Linked DNA regions of Homo sapiens: region 1 is linked to region 2. Evidence: promoter capture Hi-C in human tissues and cell types (Jung and others, 2019). All regions are on one chromosome and are shown on one strand. Each heading gives the region's core, a stretch centred on a gene start or on the middle of the fragment in contact. The rest is flanking DNA. Distances are from core to core; before and after follow the strand shown. Region 1 overlaps CADPS2 (calcium dependent secretion activator 2). Region 2 holds the start of AASS (aminoadipate-semialdehyde synthase).

Region 1 (6,623 bases), core at 1,891-4,390, 320 kb before region 2:
ATTTTCTATGGATTCCAGATTATATCACAAAGTTGTTAAGTAACCTTAATGGGCATCAGTCAAATCATCATATCATAATACCTCTGTCTTCACAGGTGCTAACATTTCCCCTTGACTGTCACTTCAGAAATTATGCCTCAAACTTCCAATCTGTAATTTTAGAGACAGTGTGCATTTTTTGAGAAACAACGTAGATAATTGCATCACGTAGGATCATCAAAAGTGTTCACTTAATTCTAGTTTTAGATATGTGACTATATAGAAATTAAGTATAAATGACACACACGTTGTAAATGGAGAGACTCACTTTTGGGGCAGGTGAGCAACCAGATGAAAGGTCATAAGCAAGGTTATCCTTAGGTAATGTACCTGATCTGACAGGTTTTATGCCATGTGCTAAATGTGCAAAGGCAGAAGGGATGGGTATTGGGGAGTATATTTCAAATATTACTGGAGGAGTTTTTTTATTTTATCAAAAACTGTAGAACAACCCTAAATCTACCTTAAGCAGACTTTCCTAGCAATATTTATACTCACCCAACCTCAAGTTCAATACTGAAGCAAGATAATTGTGCCTTTCAAAACAAAACAGACAAAACCAGAGAAAAAGAAAAGGGGAAGGGAAAGACTTGGTGTGTTGGAAATATCTCTGAGTGAGGAATCAGAGCATCTGTATTCCTGTTCTGGCTCCTCTACTGATGAACTACTTAACTTTGAGCAAATGGTTTTAATCTGTCTGAGCCTCAGCTTCTCCATGTGTACCTTGTGAGTAATAACATTAATGCTACCTACTCAATATGGTTCCTAAATAGGTCAAATAAAATTCTGTAAGTACTTTTTAAACGATGAAATATTGCTTAAATAGCATGTAGTAATTTTTTTATGCAGTGTATTAGTTAAATGAGCTTTTGGGGATTGTTCTGTGAAACACTGCAGTACTCAGGTGAATTTTGTTATGACAACATACCACAAACAGGTTTCAATCAGGAGAATGAGACTGGAAGAGCACTGAGTCAGTGCCTCACCTCATCTCCTATCCGTGGTCATGGGGAAAAGCTGTGCTGAAGTTCTGGGACCTCCCCGCCTACCACCCCCATGTTGCTGGAAAACACTGTGGCCCCAGAGGGGAGTGGCAAAGACAGCGAAAAGCAGGAGCCTAGAACCCCGTCATCCAGGATAAGTATGTAGACAGACTGCAATTTGGGAAATAGTTGCTAAGGCCACCTAATTAATTTCCTCTGTCTTCCTTCCACACCTTCCATTCAAACTGTGCAACTCCTGGATCTTTGTGAGATATTAAATAAAACAGCCTGCTGAAGGTCTGAGGAAGAGACAAGGCAAAGGAAATTTTTTAGTATATATTAGACTATATCACATTAACCATGAACAGAAACAAGGGTTACACCTTGACATAGCTTTTCTTAAACTTCATACCTTTAGAGCCTTCTTCTCGTCAATAGTTAGGTATAGGACAAAGTTTTTGGGTCTTAAGTTGGATCTTCTTATCATTTTTAACACAGTAAGTTTTTCAAAAACAGTATGTAATGTTGTATGTAGAAACAATCAAAGAAAGCTCTATATGTACATAGGTGTTATTTACCACTACCATTGCCGTCCCAGTTTGATATTTGTAGATCTATGTTGACGTACAAAATTGGCTTGTTATTTTACTTTCTCATACTGGTTTTATCAGGATTGGGTATCTAGGTTACTGTAGCCACACAAAATGAACTGGGGAGCTTTCCCACTTGCTCTGTATAAGACTTGAATGGCTTTTTGTAGTTTACCAGTATCTCATCTTTTAAACCAGTGGTCCTCAACCTTTTTGGCACCAGCGACCGGTTTCATAGAAGGTAAATTTTTCATGGATGGGGTGGAACGGTAGGATGGGGATGGTTTTGGGATGAAACTGTTCCACCTCAGATCATCAGGCATTACTTAGATTCTCATAAGCAGCACATAACTTGTATGCACAGTTCACGATAGGGTTCAGGTTCCTGTGAGAACCTAATGCCGACACTGATCTGACAGGAGGTGGAAGTCAGGCAGTACTCGCTTGCCTGCCGCTCACCTCCTGCTGTATGGCCCAGTTCCAAACAGGCCATGGATTGGTACCAGTCCACAGCCCGGGTATTGGGGACCCCTGTTTTAAACCATCTGGGCTTGGGAATTTATTTGTGGAAAGATTTTTAACTGTTGTAGTTTATGTTGTAGCTACAGAAATTCTCAGGCTTTCTATTTATTCTTGAGTCAGTTTGGGCAAGTTATGATTTTCTGGGAAATGGTAGATTTCATTTAAGTTATTAAATGTATTGATATTAAGTTATTCAAGTTGTTTTCTTTGTATTTTTTGCTCGATCTACAATTCTTCCCTTCCTCAGTCTAATATTGTTCATTTTTACCTTCTCTCTCTTTTTTTCTCTTAATCCATCAAGTTTATTGGTCTTTTCAAAGGAGCAACTTTTGGCTTTGTTGAACTCTATTGTTTCTTTTTTAGATATACTTTTTATTTTACGATAATTTTAGATTACAGAAAAGTTACTAAAAGAGTGCATAGAGTTTTCGTATTTCCGTTTCCCTTAATGTTATTGTCATACATTTGTCAAAACTAAGAAATCAACGTTGGCACACTAGTATTAACTGAACACCAGTCCTTATTCAGATTTCACCAGTTTTTTAAATTAATGTCCTTTTTTCTGCTCCAAGATTCAATTCAGGGTACCAAGTTGCACTTAATTGTCATGATTGTAGCAGTTTCTTAGGGATTTTTTTGTCTGTTTTTTGTGACCTTGACAGTTTTGAGGAGTACTAGTCAAGTGTTTTATCAAATGTCTCTCAGTTTGGGTTTGTCTGACATTTTCATGATTAGCCTGAGATTATGAGTTTTTGTAAAGAGATGAAATACCCTTCTCATCACATTCTATCAGGGAGTACATAATATCCGCGTGACATCCTGGTAGTATTTGTCACATTTCTCTACTGTAAAGATGTCATTTTTATTTTTTTATACTCTAGTTTGAAGAAAATAGCTAAGTCCAATAAAACACACTGAAGAGGAGACAGGAAATAAACCCCAACTCCTAGAAGGAGAACTATCTGCATACGTTATTCAGAATTCTTCTGTAAGGAATATATGTCTCTTCTTTCCAATTTATTTATTTAACCATTTGTTTATATCCGTATAGATTCATGTGCAGTTGCTTTATACCTTGGGTTACAATCTAATAATATCTAAATTACTTTGTTGCTCAGATTGTTCCTGCTGTAGCTATTGAAAGCTCTTTTATACTGGCTCCCTTTGATATGCCCCACTCATTTGGTTTTTGAGCACTTTCTTAGTTTCTGGCAATCTGACATGCTGCAAGCTCATCTTTTATTTTCCCTACTCTAGCCTAAGAATTAATCAGTTCTCCAAGGAGCTCTGGTTTTGTTATTGTTGTTGTTTGTTTGTTTGTTTTTTAGAGAATGGTATTTAGAAACCAAGATCTAGGTGACATGTGTGTTTATTTCTGCTGGAAAAATCATAGCTTCCAGGCCCTCTCAGTTGGACAGAGCTAGGTGATATATGATGTGTACTAAACCATGAGTTCATACTGACGTCTCCAACTGGAATCTAGGACATCAACATTCATTTCAGCATGCTTTTCTTCCTTATCTTTAACTTATCTTTTCAACAGTGAGAAATCTTACTTCCACCATCCATTTACAAAATTGTTCAACCCCTGAACTTCATGCAAAGCAGTTTTGGAATTCACCAACTAGGCTATAGTACTTGTCTACAAAACCTTTCAGTTTCCAGTCAAAATACTGTTTGCCAAAGATGAATAGGAAAGCAGCTTTTTCTCCCACCCTCCTTAGTGAGGTTATGTCATCTTTCCTAACTTCTTATGTTAGATGTGTAACTCACTACTTGCCAGCTTTTCTTCTTTTCTAAGAGTTTAGGGCTGTAACTTCCCCCACTAAATTCTGTTTTTACTACATATAGAAATGTCTTATGTACTATTTAATTAAAATTGATTCTAAGTAATTTTAACTTTTCATAATTTATTGACACAAGGTTATTTATAAGTACGTTTTAAAATATCTTGGGAGGTTGAGGCAGGAGAATGGCATGAACCTGGGAGGTGGAGCTTGCAGTGAGCCGAGATCATGCCATTGCACTCCAGCCTGGGCAACAGAGCGAGACTCCACCTCAAAAAAAAAAAAATCTAAGAATATGAAGATTTTTGGTTATTTTCTTGAGAACTGATTTCTTACCTAATTCCTTTGTGTTCAGAGAATGTGATCTGTGTGATACCAATTCTTTATCACTTGTTGAGATTTCCTTTGTGGCCAAATATGTGTCAAATATTATAAATGTTTTCTGTCACTTAAAAAAAAATATATGTATTCTTTAGGCAGTGCAAACAGGATTTGTGTGGTTAAGATCTTCTAAAGTCTTACTAATTCTTGCCTGTTTGATCTGTGGGGTTATGACCAACGTGAGTGGTGATTTACCACTGTCATGGTGGTTTTTGCTCTCTATTTCTGTAAATTTTTGCTTTGTATATTTTGAAGCTGGTTTTTGAGGAGTTGCTTTTTGTTGGGACAAAATCTCATTATGTCACACAGGTTGGTCTCAAACTCCTGGGCTCAAGTGATCTTCCTCCTTGGCCTCCCAAATTGCTGGGATGACAGGTATGAGCCACTGTGCCTGGCCCAAGGCTGTTCTGTGTTCAAGCTTAAGATTGTTAGATATTCCTGGTAGATGAACATTGTTATCATCATTTGGTGATGATCATCATAACTAATAATGATTTTTGCATGATATGTAGGTGATTATTAATGTAGCTTTCTTTTGATGAGTGTTTATCTGATGCATGTTCACATCGTTAGCCTTTCTATATTCTTGTACTTTAGTGTTTTATAAATAGCAAACTAGATTTTGATTTAATTTTTCAATATGACTATTTCTGTCCTTTAATTAGTTTGGTCCATTTACATTTATCATGTAATTGATAAAAGTAAATCACATATTAATAAAAGTAAATCACATGTTAATAAAAGTAAATCCATTTCTACCATTTTATTTTAAGCTTTCTTTTTTGGCTCATGTTCTATAAACTTTTTATTGGTATACTTTTTGTTTCATTGAAGTTATTTTCTTTAATTCTTTTTTTTTCTCTTAACAGTTTATATTTTCCAACAATTACATTTGAGATTTACCAGGCATGTTGCTGAAATTTTAAAGTCTTATGCTAATTAACAAATTTCTCCTCCTAGGTAGTTCAGAGTCCTTAGAATATTACCCTCCAGTCACCCCCTTTCTGGCTTACATACTTAAATTCTGTGGTATTTTAGTTATATCCTTTTTTCCTAAGCTTATAAATTAATATTATCTTTCTTATTTTGTACTTCGTATTTGCTTAGATTTAGAAACAATTTTCCTTTTTTCTGAAGAATGTTCTTTGGACTTTCCTATAAATGGACTCTTATACACTGTGAATTGTTATTGGGAATTTCTTTTGTTTCATCCTATTTTTTCAAAGAAAGTTTTGCTAGGTGTACAGTGCTAGGTTGATGGTTATTTTCTCTTAGAACTTTGAAGACATTCATTTTCTTCTGATTTTCTTTGTTGCCATTAAGAAGGCTCTTGGCAGGCCAGGCGAGGTGGCTCACACCTTTAATCCCAGCACTCTGGGAGGCCGAGGCGGGTGGATCACCAGGTCAGCAATTTGAGACCAGCCTGGCCAATATGTTGAAACCCCCTCTCTACTGAAAAATGCAAAAATTAGCCAGGCATGGTGCCACGCACCTGTCGTCCCAGCTACTTGGGAGGCTGAGGCAGGAGAATCACTGGAACCTGAGAGGCAGAGGTTGCAGTGAGCCGAGATGGCGCCACTACACTCCAGCCTGGTGACAGAGCGAGACTCCATCTTAAAAAACAAAACAAAACAACAACAAAAAAGGCTCTTGGCAGTACAAATGCTAGTCTTTTGAGGATGATTCCTCTTTTTCCTCTGGATGCTTTTTTTAAAAAAAGATTCTTTTGTTCTTTTGTGTTTTGTAAGTACACTGTAAGGTTTCTTTGTATGGATTTCTTTTAATTTATTGTGATTGGGACATATATGAATTTCTAATCTACCTGCCATGATATTGTATAGGTGTGCATTTCTTTTTATTTACCCTGATTGGAATATAAAGATTTATATTTGTCATCAGTTCTGGAATAGCATTATCTCTTTAAATATTGTCTCTTCTACAATCTTTTTCTTCTCATCTGAAGCTCCAATTACCCATGTACTAGGCATTTTATCTTCTATATCTTTTAATGTCTCTAAAATGTATTCTATCTACGTATTTTTCCAGCTGCATCCTGTGTAATGTTTTCAATTCTGTCTTCCAGTTGAGGAATTGGCTGCTATTGTGAAGGGCTCTACAGTAAACATGACAACTATTTTGGGCTTTGTAACTATACAAAATCTTGTAACTATTTTTGACCATGTAGTCTCTGTTACAACTATACAACTCCGCCATTGCTGTGCAGAAGCAGTCATGGACAATATAGAAATGAATTAGTGTGGCTTGTCCCAACAAAATTATATTGACAAAAGCAGATGAAAGGCCGTAGTTTGCCAACCCTT
Region 2 (6,767 bases), core at 1,835-4,334:
ATGACAGAGATGGTATGATCTGTGAAGCCTAAAATATTTATTTTCTGGCCCTTTACAGAAAAAAGTTTGTTGACCCCTGCCTTAGGTAGGTTCCTCTTCAGGTAGGATTAATCTTTTTTTGTTTGTTTTTGAGATGGAGTCTCACTCTTGTCACCCAGGCTGGAATGCAGTGGTGTCATCTCGGCTTACTGCAACCTCCTCCTCCCGGGTGCAAGCGATTCTCCTGCCTCAGCCTCCCAAGTAGCTGGGATTACGGGCCCTTGCCACCATGCCTGGCTAATTTTTGTATTTTTAGTAGAGACAGGGTTTCACCATGTTGGCCAGGCTGGTCTCAAACTCCTGACCTCAGGTGATCTGCCCACCTTGGCATTCCAAAGTGCTGGGATTACAGGCATGAGCCACTGTGCCCGGCCGGCAGGATTAATCTTTAGGCAGCTTTATTCCTGTCACAAACCACTACTGTTGGTTGAATGGCACTCTCTACAGCTACAGCTACAGCTACACTACAGGTAGAACTATTCCTGAGTTCTGGTAATTATTTCTTTCCCTGGCCCTGTTTAGGCCTACGAGTGATTGTCAGTGTTGCTAGTCCCAGGGACTACATGGCACATATACTGCCACTTTCCTTTATCCCTGCATACACTCAGTCCTTTTGTGTCTCCTAATTTACCCAGTTGGATTGTGCCACCTATTTCCTGCTAAGACCCCAACTGACTTATTACACGCATAGCATCGTACTAGAAGCAATAAATAAATAGAAAAGAAAAGAAAAGAGGAAGTCCACGTACATATTCTTATTTTATGGTGGTGATGACAGGTGAGCTGAGCAATGTGGATAAGGTAAGTATGAATAACTGTGATAAAAGGAAGAATGTGATAAGTACAATAAGAGAGGCCAATACACAAGGGAGAAGGGAAACAATCACATGTGGTTGAAATATTCAGGAAAGTTTTCATTATTTAAGTGGCATTTGAGCTGAACCCCAAAGGGCTGGTTAGTTTTAGAAAGGTGAATATTTTTGTAAATTAGAATTACAGATAAGTCTACAACATGAGGTATTTGGAGGAAAATAAATAATGATTTCCAGTTTCTTCAGTGAGACAATTAACAGGGCACTTTGGCCATTATCTCATTTTGTTCTCATGACTCCACGAAGTAGTGGCTATTATTAACCCATTAACAGATAATGGAGCACAGGCTTTTTTTGAAAACTAAGTAACTTGCCCATGATTTACAACTCAAAGGAGAAGAGTAAGGATTCTTACATTCTTACCCAGATGCTTAATCCTTAGGAAGATAGCAAGGCATAAATTGTGTTTCAGTGGTGGTTTCAGGCTGGTTCTGCTGCAGAAATAAAGCCAAGGTCATTGATTTTGGCCACATCTGAAGCAACTAACATTATGTGAAGAACGTTGGGCTAATGTTCCACAAGTACTGGGTAGTCTCTGAGGCTTTTTGCTTAGGCCAATGAGACAATTGGAGTTGTATGCTTAAAAAAATATGGTCTACGTTATATATAAAAAGGGGTTTGAAGTAGGGTGATAGTAGTGGGGTTTTTAAAGGACAGTGTCAACACCAAGGGTAAGGCTGAGGGGCCAGAGGAAGAACTGAAGTGACCGTGGCTTTTTAAGTCTGGATAGGTGGTGAGTAGGAAGGCAGTGATATTAGTAACAGAGCTGGTGAGCACAAAAGGGAAGGCTTTATTTTATTTTATTTTTTGAGACAGGGTCTTACTCTGTCACCCAGACTACAGTGCAGTGGCATGATCATGGCTCACTGCAGCCTCAACATCCTGCGGCTCAAGTGATCCTTCCACCTTAGCCTCCTAAGTAGTTGGGACCACAGGTATGTGCCACTACACCTGGCTTTTTAAAATTTTATTTATTTTTATTATTTTTATTTTTAGTAGACACAGGTCTTGCTACGTTGCCCAGGTTAGTCTTAAACTCCTGGGCTCAAGTGATTCTCCAGCCTCAGTCTCCCAAAGTGCTGAGATTACAGGTGTGAACCACTACACAGCCTTTGGAAGACTTTCCAAGAATGATAAGGGATCCGATTTTGGAAATGTGAAGCTGAAGATACAGAAGAAAATTCCAACTCTACTTACAGATAAAATTCTAATTTGGGGTTGGGCACAGTGGCTAACACCTGTAATCCCAGTGCTTTGGGAGGACGAGGTGGGAGGATAGCTTGAGGCTAGGAGTTCCAGACCAGTGTCCTGGTCAACACAGCGAGACCCCATGTCTACCACAAATAAATAAATAAATAATTTTCTCTGCAATTGGAGATATGAGTGGAGTCTCAAGAACGTTCTGGCTATAGATTGTTGACATAGGAGTTCAGTAGCTAAATACATCTATGGCAGGTATAAGAAGAGTAAGTGGTGGAGAAAGTTGTAAAAACAGGAGGGAAGATTAACTTCTGACCGTTGACGCCTTGGGGAATCACAGCTGGGCTTCAGACGATTCTTCAGTTCCTAGTGCTGGGGCTAGTGTCTATGAAATACGTTTTCCCCCTCCCTCCAGGCCTCCTAGGTAGTTAGGACTTTTCAATAACATTGGACATTGCCATATGCACATGAACACACTCAGTTTTAATTTCTCAGATTCTCCGCTTGCTGGCTTCTAAAACTGTTGTAAGAACTGTTATCTGGCTTCACAGGGTTGTGACAAGGCGGTGAAATGCTTTGAAAAGTGTCTATAGCTAAACAAACGTGAGGTACCGGCGCTCGCAACTTTTCCCCAGGAGATGTGCACCTCTATTTAGAGCGTAATGCCCAGACTATTTTCGTTGCTTTCCGTCCCCGCCCGCCTTCTGCCACGGACAGTTACAAACCTGGTCGATAATTATCCTGGGAGAACTCGACGTCCCAGCTAAGAACGCAGGTCAGAGATCAGAGATCAGAGACAGAAGGATCTTGGGGAGGAGCAGGGGCCGGGCATGACGTAGCAACTGGCAGCGCCGCCGATTGGCAGATGAGAAGGTTGTTCCCTCAGGGCGGCTGCTGATTGGCTACGGGAGGCAGAGGCGTGACGTCCTCAGAAGTTGAGCAAACACCTCCTACTTCCCGGCCTTCCATCCCAGTTTCTTCTAGGAATTCGGAGCCTCCCCTGCAGCGACTCGGAAGATTCGAGGCGGCGGGGGACAAGTCGGCGCCCCAGAGCGGACGAGGTGAGGAGAGGAGAGGTCCCCGCGGAGAGCTGAGCAGACGCGCGGGTGGGCTCAGCCTGTGAGATGCGGTGGAGATAGCGGGCCGGGCTCGGGCTGTCGCTGGGAGGGGCCCGCGAGCCTGGCCTTCGGGTCCCGGCGCCGCGAGGCGACCCCGGCCGGGCCGAGAGAGGGAGAAGGCGGCGAGCATTCGGGCCTCCCTGCGAGGAATGGAGGGAGAGCGGAAACGCAGAGAGTTTCACTGCGAGGAAGGGAGGGAGAGCGGTCAGCGCAGCTCCAGCATTTCTAAGTAGAAAGGCGAGGGATTGCAATTCGGATTTCTTTTCTTTCTTTTTTGGCGGACAGTGGTGGTGCTGTGGCTGGGGAATAAAGAACTGATGAAGCTGAGGAAACAACGGCTTGTTAATTTGTGGACGGCGTGCTTAGAGGGGACGGCTGGCTGAGGGGGCGGTGGATGGAGATTTCGGGGTGGTTCTTTCCCCCTTCCCTCCCCACGCCCAGCTTAGCCAAACTGATCACAAACTTCTCTCCTTGTCCATCTTGGGCTGCCCACTCTCCGAGACACAGACCCATTCTCCAGCAAGGATCGGAGATGGGTGGAAGTTGGGCGCCTTGCAAGTCTGGGTTTCCTGAACTCTTCAGCCCCTGCGGGACTATGCAGCCCATTGTGAGCGCTCGCGCGGGACGGGGCGCGGGGAGAAGCAGTTTACCCACCCTCCTCGGTTGAATGGGGCTGAATGTCTGTCTATCCTGACAGCTTCAGAAGAAGAAATGTGCTTTTCAGACATTGATTTCAGGGGAATGGGGGTGGGGGGAGCGGAAGAGAGAGAGAGAAAGAGCGCTCGAGCGCGAGAGAGAATGAATTAGTTCAGTAACTTGAACAAGGATTAACATTTTTTGATGTTGTGGGTTATCAGTGGGGAAGGTGCAGCTGTGAGATGTAGTTATACACAGGACGGAATGGTCCTTGACTGAAGCTGCGGCTTTCCAATACTGTATTAAAAAAAATCCCAAAACACTGATGGCACTTTGGTGTTTCTGGGTTTGTCTGTTTTGTCCCCTGCACTCCCCTCTTCTTTTTTTCCCATGAAGATGAGTGAATCTAGGGCTACATGACTTGACTGTGTAACCTGGTGGCCATTCTGCAAAATGAGTTAGGTGGACAAAAATTGAAGCCAATTTACCTGAATCATTTTCCCACTCTTCAGATAATCATATTTGTTATCAGTTTCACTTGTTATTGATGATGGCGTGATCAGAACTTTGGTTTATTTGTCATTGAATTTTTTTTCTCACTAGTCGTTTAACAGACCTTGGTTCGGAATTTTGGAAATGATCTTTGGTGTTTAAGAAGCCACCATTTAACAAAACATTTTCATTTTTTTCATATATTCTTTTATTAATTTTCTCATAGAAATAACATTACAAACAGTGGTAAGTTTTCTTGGGAAGGCTACAAAAGATTCTATGCAATTCATGAAATCATGGAAACAAACATTTGGAATGGAAAATAACCCCAAAACATTATTACCACATTCATCTGATCTAAGGTGTCATCTATTGTAAGATGCATCCCTATTTCACTGATGCTAAAATGTGTAAAAAAATTGTCTTAAATTTGATGAAATACAACATTAAAATGGTAATTTATTTATCTTGAACATGCATGCCTGAAGTTTGAAGTTGAAGAGAGGGCTTATTGGGCTCTAATTATTTTTTTTCCAAAATAATGTAAGGGTGGGGGATTAATATGGAGCCATCGTGAAGGTCTTACTACAGTGTGACAGAGGAAAGAAATGTGAGTCTACTGTTAGCGGCGTGGTTGTGCTCGCTTTTGAGGAGTAGGCAAGCCTGGAGGCTTTTTCTTTTCTTAAAATTTATTGTTTATGACACACAGCAATGCTCAGCACTTTATGCATATTAGCTCAATTAAACGTCTTAAGAGCCCTAAGAGGTAGAGGTTAATATGATTCTCATTTTGCGCATGATGCACAGACAGGTTAAGTTGCCAGCCAAGGTCACAGAGTAAGTTTGGCCGCTGAGGAACCCAGGAGAGAAACCAGTATTCCTTTGAGGTATCCATCTTCTGTTGCAAGCTCTTGGTTCCTGGTCCATGCTATTAATGCAGGTAGCTTAGGTGAATGTCCACTCTTTCTTGATTGTGTTTTTGGTATTTTGTTTCCCTGTTTGGTGTACTTTAGCTAGAAATTCATAAGTCAGAGTGCCTATTTATGTTCTACATTTCTAATGTTTTTGTAATTCTCAGTGTCCAGTTACTACTATGCTTAATAGAATCAGAATATCAGAGCCTGAAAGGGACTTTAGTATTATATTTTTGTCTGGGTAAGGAAACTGAAGTCAAGAGGAGGAACCCTACATCTAGTTATGTGTCCCAGCTCCCATGTCTAAGTTTTCCCACTATACTGTACTATATTTCACGACATTTGTTGATCTATGAGATCTTGGAAGAGAATCAAGTTTTTTTTTTTTTTTTTTTTTTTTTTTGCAGGGTTAGGGGGATGTGAGTCTCTTATTAATGTGTCTATTTTATCTGTTTGTTTGTTTGTTTGTTTTCTTGCTGCATAGGTCTTTATAATGTTTATTGAATTTGCTTTTTCATTTATTCATTCTTTCTTAAAACACTTGCTGTTTTCCCATGTGCCAGTCATTGGGAATACAGAGATGAGTAAAACACAACTCATACACATTTGCAGTTTAGCAAAGAGACAGACAAGTAAGCAGATAAGCATTTTGGACTAGACTCCGATTTAGAACTAACTTTGTATTCCATTTCAATGAAGCTAAAATTATAAGCTAGAGACCAGGAGAAATATGTGTCATGTTTATGGATGACTTTGAGTAGGTGATGGGCTGGAGAAAATATGAAAATTCTCAGACCAGATTAGTTAACACTAATAGACCTCCTCCCCCAAAGTCTACCACTTTCTTCTTAATCCAGTAAAGTATTTTATAGAGGGTTTAACATGGAAGCATTAAAAGAATGTACCCACGCACAGGAAGTCAAAGTATGACCAGTGTTAATGCAAGCCCAAGCCTAGTTCTAGCAAGCCTTGAAATTGGGAGGGATTTGGATTAGTTCTAGGCCATCATCTGGTGCTGTGTTAATTCTGGAACTCTTTTGAACCTCTCCAAAAAATATTATGGTTTGGATACTTAGTGTAGGCCAAGACTCATAGCCATAGAGCTGCCATACTTATTTACAGACACCAGTGCTTCTTGGGAAACCATGGATTTTAATATATACTTGTATTTTTTTTTTTTTTTTAGTTACTTGGAAGGGTGAATATAAATAATTAGCGCTGTTCATCCTTGAACTTATTTTCTTCATCTAAAGACTACATTACCTCATTCTTAGTCTCTCAATATTTAATCACAATATATGCCTGATTATTGCAAATAATTTGTCATTCAGAAATCCCCCGTGTGATTTGATAGTTTTGGTTTGAGTCATTGAATTATGCTGTAGTGAAATTATTTTAAATATCTAAAATAGATGGACAAAGAGCACGTTCCTAACTGTGGGGATTAAAGTTGGAACATTTGGCCTTAATTTCTTCAAAAATGAATGTGTGATCCT

The links. The method cuts DNA at HindIII sites, captures the fragments that hold promoters and counts their contacts. A contact is called where the count stands out against the background at its distance.
Region 1: a fragment that was not itself captured here is called in contact with the fragment with the promoter of AASS in region 2 in 1 of the 25 tissues and cell types used here (mesendoderm cells).

What each region holds. Positions count from the first base shown.
Region 1 is chr7:122,460,909-122,467,531 of GRCh38, reverse strand. All of the region lies in intron 14 of CADPS2 (calcium dependent secretion activator 2), which reads left to right. Among named protein-coding and RNA genes, the nearest start is that of FEZF1, 160 kb to the right of the region's middle. The HindIII fragment of the contact is 4,156 bases long and covers 1,063-5,218 here.
Region 2 is chr7:122,140,566-122,147,332 of GRCh38, reverse strand. It overlaps AASS (aminoadipate-semialdehyde synthase), which reads left to right and starts at 3,084. Exons shown (of 24, transcript NM_005763.4): 1 at 3,084-3,172. LOC102724527 (a long non-coding RNA gene) reads right to left here and starts at 2,919. Exons shown (of 6, transcript XR_007060500.1): 1 at 2,837-2,919. RefSeq lists enhancers at 2,704-2,753, 3,755-4,260 and a silencer at 3,254-3,453. The HindIII fragment of the contact is 13,093 bases long and covers 1-6,767 here.